Linked DNA regions of Homo sapiens: region 2 is linked to region 1. The links are contacts of gene promoters, found by promoter capture Hi-C in human tissues and cell types (Jung and others, 2019). All regions are on one chromosome and are shown on one strand. Each heading gives the region's core, a stretch centred on a gene start or on the middle of the fragment in contact. The rest is flanking DNA. Distances are from core to core; before and after follow the strand shown. Region 1 holds the start of SCN5A (sodium voltage-gated channel alpha subunit 5). Region 2 overlaps SCN11A (sodium voltage-gated channel alpha subunit 11).

Evidence for each region. The method cuts DNA at HindIII sites, captures the fragments that hold promoters and counts their contacts. A contact is called where the count stands out against the background at its distance.
Region 2: a fragment that was not itself captured here is called in contact with the fragment with the promoter of SCN5A in region 1 in 1 of the 25 tissues and cell types used here (liver).

The regions. Positions count from the first base shown.
Region 1 is chr3:38,648,053-38,651,868 of GRCh38, reverse strand. It overlaps SCN5A (sodium voltage-gated channel alpha subunit 5), which reads left to right and starts at 2,182. Exons shown (of 28, transcript NM_000335.5): 1 at 2,182-2,338. RefSeq lists a silencer at 2,064-2,223. The HindIII fragment of the contact is 3,470 bases long and covers 674-3,816 here.
Region 2 is chr3:38,982,333-38,986,148 of GRCh38, reverse strand. The region is part of intron 2 of SCN11A (sodium voltage-gated channel alpha subunit 11); the gene reads left to right. Among named protein-coding and RNA genes, the nearest start is that of SCN11A, 68 kb to the left of the region's middle. The HindIII fragment of the contact is 6,597 bases long and covers 1-3,816 here.

The DNA of each region.
Region 1 (3,816 bases), core at 933-3,432:
TGTTGCCTGTCTCTGCACTCTGAGGCCTCTCTAGGACCACAAGGTGTGCTTTTATGGATGAACTTCTACAGGTTCAGAGCTCTGGTTCCCCATCCCCTGGGCTTCTCTCCCCCTGTTTAAATTCAGGGTGCATGTAGACTTACCAGGCTCAGCCCACCTCTCCTGCTGGCAACATCCAGTTGCCCAATACTAAACAGGAGAGTGAAAACCCCACTTCTGCTACATATGGACGGAAGGGAGGCAGGTATCCACCCCTACTCCCAGCAGCTTCTATCCTAGCCTTGTCTCCTGCTTGACCCAATGTCAGTTTGCAAGTAGAAGCTTCATTCTGAGGCCGAGAAGCCCGTGATGGAAGTTCTTAGGGGAGGTAGGACCTTCCTGCTACTGTACTCTCCTGCCTGGTAGGTGTGACTCTGGGAAGGCGGCTGCACGTGGGTTGAAACGTTGACACTGCCTGCACTTCCCCTTCTGGCCGATAGTGGGAGCTGCTAGCCAACCTGAGGCTCGTCAGGCGCTAAAGGCTGGCAGCCGACCTGTGTGGTCCATCCGTCTGTACCCCAGACACCCCACTCAACTCGGGGCCGGAGAGGCCCATGTCCTGAACTTTCCTGTGGACTGACTTTCCTACTGATCCCCTCCTGCAAGCAGAGCAGCCCCTCCGTATGTACCTAAGGCGTCCAACGAAGCCCCACACCCAGGTCGCAAACGGACGCTGTCCCCCACCCCCCTCTTTGCCCTCCCACCTCTTCAAGATCCCCATCATGGAGGAGCAGGTCCCAGCCTCTGGGCTCCCAAACCCAGCACCTCTGTGCCCTCTGAGACCCTGGCACCCATTTGGCTCTCTAAGAGCGGTTCTTGCTTTTGGGAGCCCTGAAAATGTGGCAGAAAAGTGTACCATCCCTTCCAATGACTGTACTTTTTTCGTGGGCAAAAGCTGATGGCCTGTTTTTTGTTGTTGTTTTGTTTTGTTTTTGTTTTTGTTTTTAGAAGCGCAAGATTTATTGTGAAGAGGGAAAGAACAAAGCTTCCACAGCGTGGAAGGGGACCCAAGCGGGTTGCCCTGATGGCCTGTTTTGTTTAAACAAGAAGTGTGTCCCCATAGGTCCTGGGCATGGGCATGGGAGCAACTGTTTGTCAGCGTATGTCTCCGTGTGTGTGTGCCTGTGACCATGTCTCTGAGTGAGAAACAGTGGGTGTGTAAGTATGTGACTCCAGGCTCTGCATGTGTCAAGGTGAAGGTTGTATGTGGCTCAAGAGGGTGGAAGTATATATATAAAGAGGTATATACATGTATATATATGTATGTGTGTGTGTGTGTTTGCGCGCGCGCGTGTGTGGGTGTCTCTGTGTTGGTTGCCTGCTTGCTTCTGGGTCTGGGTGTGTGTTTGGTTCTGTCAGCATGTGCGTCCGTGTGTTCAGGTAGATGTGTACCATTGTGCAGATTTCTGTGGCATCACTAAGTGTGTCTCCAGGAAAGTGTGGTTCGAGTGAGTGTGTGTGTCTCTGTGTCAGTGTGTCAGTGGATGTGTGTCTAAGTCATGTGGGTGTCTAAGTTTGTCAGAGTGTCTTCCTCAGTGTCAGTGTGTGTCAATGATGTGTCTGTCTGTGTCTGTGTGGGTGTGTGGGGGTGTGTATCTGTCTCAGGGTGCATGTGTGTGTCTGTGTCAGTGCAGGTATGCCTATGGCAGCGTGTGTCTGTCTCGGCATGAGTGTCAGTGTATGCCCGTGTCCACGTGGGTGGGTGGGTGTCTGGTAGCCTTCCCAAGTCAGCAAGGTTGCGTGTGTGTGTGTGTATACTCTGGCGGGTGCTGGTGTGTATGCCAGTGTTTGTTAATGTGAGCCTGTCCGCGTCCGCGTGGGTGGCCATCTGTGGTGAAGCGTCGCCGGGTCGCCGTGTGTGTACCCCCGCCTATGTCTGTCTGTCCGCGGCCGCGTGTGCGGCTGTCTGTGGCTGTGAGCCCCCGGGTCAGTGTGGGAGTGTGCGCCCCGGCGGGCGCTGGTGTGTCCCCCCTCCGAGCGGGCGGAGCACCACGTGCGGAGCCCTGGGCGCGTCGCTCTGGGGCGGAGCCAGCCCGGGGCCCCAAGCCCCAGGCCGAACCCAGGCGGGGCCCGCCCCGACCCCGCCCCCGACCCCGCCCCCAGCCCGAGCCCGCGCCGCCTGCCCAGCCCGGGAGCCCGAACAGAGCCGCGGAGCCGAGACGGCGGCGGCGCCCGTAGGATGCAGGGATCGCTCCCCCGGGGCCGCTGAGCCTGCGCCCAGTGCCCCGAGCCCCGCGCCGAGCCGAGTCCGCGCCAAGCAGCAGCCGCCCACCCCGGGGCCCGGCCGGGGGACCAGCAGGTGAGCGAGTGCCCCCGCGCCCGGCAGCCCTGGCCCGGCCGGAGCCCCCTCCGCCTGCCGCCGCCCAACTTTCCTCCCCGAGGGCCGAAGCCTCCAGTCCCTGCGTGCTCCTCCCTGCCCCGGGTCCGCCCAGCCGCTCCCTCCCCGATCAGTGCCCCAGAGAGCCGGAGGGGGAGAAGGGGCGCAGATCCGCCCGGCTGGAGGGTATCCCCGGGGGAGACGTCTCTAAACACCGTGCGCCCCCCTTCCCTTCCCTTTCCTTCCGGGTTTCCCGGTGCGCTGTCGAGGGCCGGGGGAGGGGGAGCTGCGGCCCCAGCTTCCCGGCCATCCCTGGCGCAGGCTCGGGGAGGGTCTGGGATTGGGACCCGGATACCGGAGGCCGGAGACCCCAAGGTCAGAGCGGCGACTAGGCGCGCCATGAATGTGGTTCCAGAGAGCGGGGTTTGCGGGGGCTGACCGAGCAGGGCTGGATATGGGGGAGGAAGCCACGCACCCCCTTTCTCTGGGCCCAGGGGGAACCGTCCGCTGGGGCTGTCCTCTCTGTGGGACGAGATCTCTGCGCGTTTAGACCATGTAGAGATCTCGGTGCCCTTTGACGCCCTAAAGGGGCCGCATCTCCTCTGTCTGATCTCTGTGCTTCTCGAAGGGGTGGAGATCTCTTTGCGGTGAGATTGGAGAGAGTTCTCTGCCCTCCTCTCTCTGAGCCGGAACAGATCCACGCACCCTGATGGGAGGTGGCTCTCGACCTCTGTGTTATTTGATCGTCTTTGGTGGCGCTCTGGAAGAAAGTGGAGGTGCCAAGCTTTGTCCGAGAGGCCAAGAGCTGGTGGGGGCCAGAGGTGTGGGGACTGTTAGTGGTGGTGATGAGGATGGGGGGAAATGATGTTGGGGACAAGTCCCTGGCTGTAGGCCTGCCTTGCAAACACCTGTTGGAGAGCAGAGCACAGCCAGATCAGGATGCCATGGCTAAGATAGTGCAGGACTCACTCTTGTGCTCCTCAGTGCCTTCAGCCCAGCCCCGGGCCATGGGATCTATCTCCTCTTAAGGTCCTGGGCCTATGTTCCATTCCCAGGCATCTGCTCGCCTCCTGCTGAGACCCCAGGTGTGTCTCCCAGTGAGCCTAGGCAGTATCATCCAGATGGCAAACCACGTGACCCCCACCATGCCATGGCATCCCAAGCCCTCTCCCAGGTTCCCACCATCCTTCAGGATCTAGTGGGACCGTGAGCAGCAGAGGCCCCAGCTACTGGGGGCCCAGGCCATTGCCGCTGCCCTCAACTCCATCTGTTTGACCTCATCTCCACTCAGTTAGAATTGGGCAGGTGCATATGAATCGGTGGTAATGAGTGCGAGGTGGAATGAGGGTGGTCAGGCTGCTGTTGCAGGAGCATGGAGAGGGTGAGGTCAGGTGACAGCCAGGGTGTGGAACACAGATTCTATGTTACAGTGTCCAGCTCTGTGCTGAAAAGAGCCTCAT
Region 2 (3,816 bases), core at 627-3,126, 330 kb before region 1:
ATGAAGGCAGCTGATCTGTATAACTAACAGGATATTGTGCAAATCAAAAAGTGTGACTTCCAAAGCTAGACATTGTGGCTTTTGCCTTACTTTCTTACATCACTTGTATAGGACACTCAAACAGACTGTGGAAAGGTCCCGGTAGGGAGAAATGGCAGTTTCCCACCAATGGCCAGTACAACCTTGCCTCATGAGTGAGCCACCTGCAAAGCAGACCCTTTAGTCCCAACCAAGACCAACTAGCTAACATCTTGACTGCAACCTCAGGAGAGATCATGAGCTGGAGGAACCCAGCTAATCCATTCTGGAATTCATGACCCATAGAAACTGTGAGATGGTAAACACTTATGGCTATTTTAAGCCACTAAGTTTTGAGGTCATTTCTTACACAGCAGTAGATGACTAATACTTTAAACAACATGTCTCTTCTAGTTTTCACCATCCCAGCAAATGGCAAATGCATTTATGCTGTTGTTCAGTCCAAAATCCAAGACTCAGCCTTGATTATACTCTTCCCCTCACAATCCACATCAGCAAATTATGTAAGACAGCTTTTTCTTGAAATGGTTTCACAAATCTATCTGCCTTTCTCCATCTTCACTGCCATAGCTCACACCCAAGCCATGGTCACCTCCAGCCTGCACTCCTGCAACAGTGTCCCCACTGATCTTTTCATTTTTACACCTGTCCCTAACAGTTGATTCTTAAGACAGCCAGCAGGCCGGGTGCGGTGGCTCACGCCTGTAATCCCAGCACTTTGGGAGGCCGAGATGGGTGGATCACGAGGTCAGGAGATCGAGACCATCCTGGCTAACACGGTGAAACCCCGTCTCTACTAAAAATACAAAAAAAAATTAGCCGGGCGTAGTGGCGGGTGCCTGTAGTCCCAGCTACTCGGGAGGCTAAGGCAGGAGAATGGCATAAACCCGGGAGGCAGAGCTTGCAGTGAGCTGAGACTGCGCCACTGCACTCCAGCCTGGGCAACAGAGCAAGACTCTGTCTCAAAAAAAAAAAAAAAAAGACAGCCAGCCAGAAAGACATTTTTTTAAAAAATCCGAATATGTCATCCTCTGTTTAAGCCCTCCTGTGGCTTTCATTGTATCACAAAACTGAAATAGTCTGCTGCAGCCTAGTGACCATACATAATCCAGCCCCTGCCTACATCTCTGCCTCATCTCCTACTATGCTTGCTCATTCACTCAACTCTAGTCACACTGGCCTCCTCACTGCCCTTGAATGTGTTTCTGAGTCAAGGTCTTTGCATTTGCTCTTATTTTCTTGGAATGTTCCCTCCCCCAGACTTTCGCGTGCCTTCATTGAAAGCTCAACACGAATTTCAGCCAGGCACAGTGGCTCACGCCTGTAATCCCAGCACGTTGGGAGGCCAAGGTGGGCGGATCACCTGAGGGCAGGAGTTTGAGACCAGCCTGGCCAACATGGTGAAACCCCGTCTCTACTAAAAATACAAAAATTAGCCGGGCATGGTGGCAGGTACCTGTAATCCCAGCTACTTGGGAGGCTGAGGCTGGAGAATTGTTTGAACCTGAGAAGCAGAGGTTGTAGTGAGCCAAGATCATGACATTGCACTCCAGCCTGGGGGACAGGAGTGTGGCTTTGTCTCAAAAAAAAAAAAGCTCAGCACAAATTTCACCTCCTCAGAAAGGCTTTCCTTGACAATTCAATATCAATATCTCCCTTTTACCATCTACCCCCTTGTCCTCACCACTAAGGTGCCATATTGGATTTAGGGTTCTTGGGTTGCAAACAACAGAAACCAGCTCTTTCTTATTTAAACTAAAATAACAATTATGGGAAGGTAGGGGGAGCTCTTTAGATTGAATGCAATGTTGAAGAGCCAGAAGGAGGCAGATACTAGCAGCTCTGAACATGTTGGTCTCCAGATGAATAGGGCACCTTCCTCAGTGGAGGCACCCATTGAAGAATGAGTACATTCCTAGAGAATGTGGTCTAAGAGGATTATGAGTGAAAAGGACCTGATGGTCATGGAGCAAGACTGCTCTGGGATTCCTCCTTTCCTGGTGGTTGCAGAGAAGGAACAGTGGGAAAGAGGGAGGCTGTAGAAGGATGACTGGTGTGGAAACTTTCCCAAAGCAATGGGACTAAAAAGATTTAGAAATGTGATCAGCAGGACTTCATTTTACCCTGTTCTCCTGGGAACAAATCAATGAGGTGATCATTATCTTCACCAGAGGCCCATTTAGAAATTGAACATTTTTAAAAGCACACAGAACAGAAGGATTTGTAATGTGTAAGTTTATCTCTAAGTAATTTCTCTCTCTAACTTCCTGGTGGATGAAACCCAACACAAGTTAGCTTAAGCAAAAAAGGTCTTTGTGTTTTTTGTTTTTTAAATAGAGATGGATAGTTCTTTCGTAAAACCATAGGACTGTCATGATGGTCAAAGGACTAGAACCAGAAACTTAAGAGTCATTAGCAACTCAAAGAGATTCTTTCTTTTTTGGATTTTCTTTCAAGCTCCCTTATGGGGTAGAGGTTGTCATTAACTTATAGATGAGGAAACTGAGACGCAGAGGTTAAGTAACTTGCCTTAGGGTCACACTTGGCTTTACCTTAATGATAGGAGGGTCCTTGTTTGTCTTGAGGGTTTCAGAATTTCCTTGTTCATTTCTCTATTACTTTCTTTCCCCATTCAAGTGAGACTCAAGTTGCTGACACAGGGGAGGTCAGGCCACAGAGGACCCAGTGTCTATTGAAACTCTATTTTATAGGGCACAGTGAGCACCCTTCCTCAGCTCCCAAAGCCTGTTCTTTCTAGAAGCCTTAACTTAACTAGGGGAGTTCAAAGTCATGCACCTTTTGCCTAGGTCTGAATATTGAAGAATGGCCTGACCACTCTGGTGAAGGTGACATGGAGCAAAAAACATCAAAGCTCAGGGGTGAAGAGGAATCATGAAGGCCATCTAATGCAGGGGCCACAAACCCACACGCAGCAGGAACCACTCAGGTACTATAAAGGAAATAAGTAGCACAGTAAGAAGAGTGGTGAGGTCTGTGGCTAATGGTCTCATCTAAAACAGCCTTCCCTATTCAGCTCTGGCTTCTTGCTGACATTTTGGACTCATACTCAACATTGTTAGATTTTCTGAGTTTTCAAGAGAAGCCAGAAGTTTTCCCCGCTACTTTGTATTGTTGTGAAAATTAAATGAGATAACTCACATAAGTTGATTGGAAGATGTGTCTGGCATATGGGGTAAGCTTTCAGTAAGTGTTCATGGCTATAATAACATTTCGCAGATGTGGAAACCAAGGCCCAAAATGGTCTCCCCCAAGATCACATTTATTGGAAGATGTTACATGACAGCCCAGGATCCTGACCCTGGGTCCACAGTTCTTCCTTCCTGGTTTTCCTTTCCTGACCCCCACCCCATCCTTGAGCCATCACCATTGTCACTGTGTAGCATGACACATTTTAACTAACTATATGCTGCTTCACCACTGTATCTTTCATATATTATGTCTGCTGATTCCCTACTTTCAGAGAAATTTTCCTCCCTTAGTAAATGAAACCTATGTCAAAGCTTGTTCCAGTAAAACAATCCACTGGGTTGTTCGTATAAAAGCAATAGCTCTGAAGCAGCTCCCCACCCTGCCTTATTAGCTCGGCAGGGCTGTATTACATAATCTCAGACCTTTCCATTTAAGTCAGGGGCTCACCCACTGTTTACCCAGGGCCCATTAAACCATTAAGAAAAAAGGATGCCTTAGTGGGCCAGGAAGACTTGTGCACTTTGTTGAGAATGAAGCTAATTTCCTCTTGCTCTGTGGAAACAAATG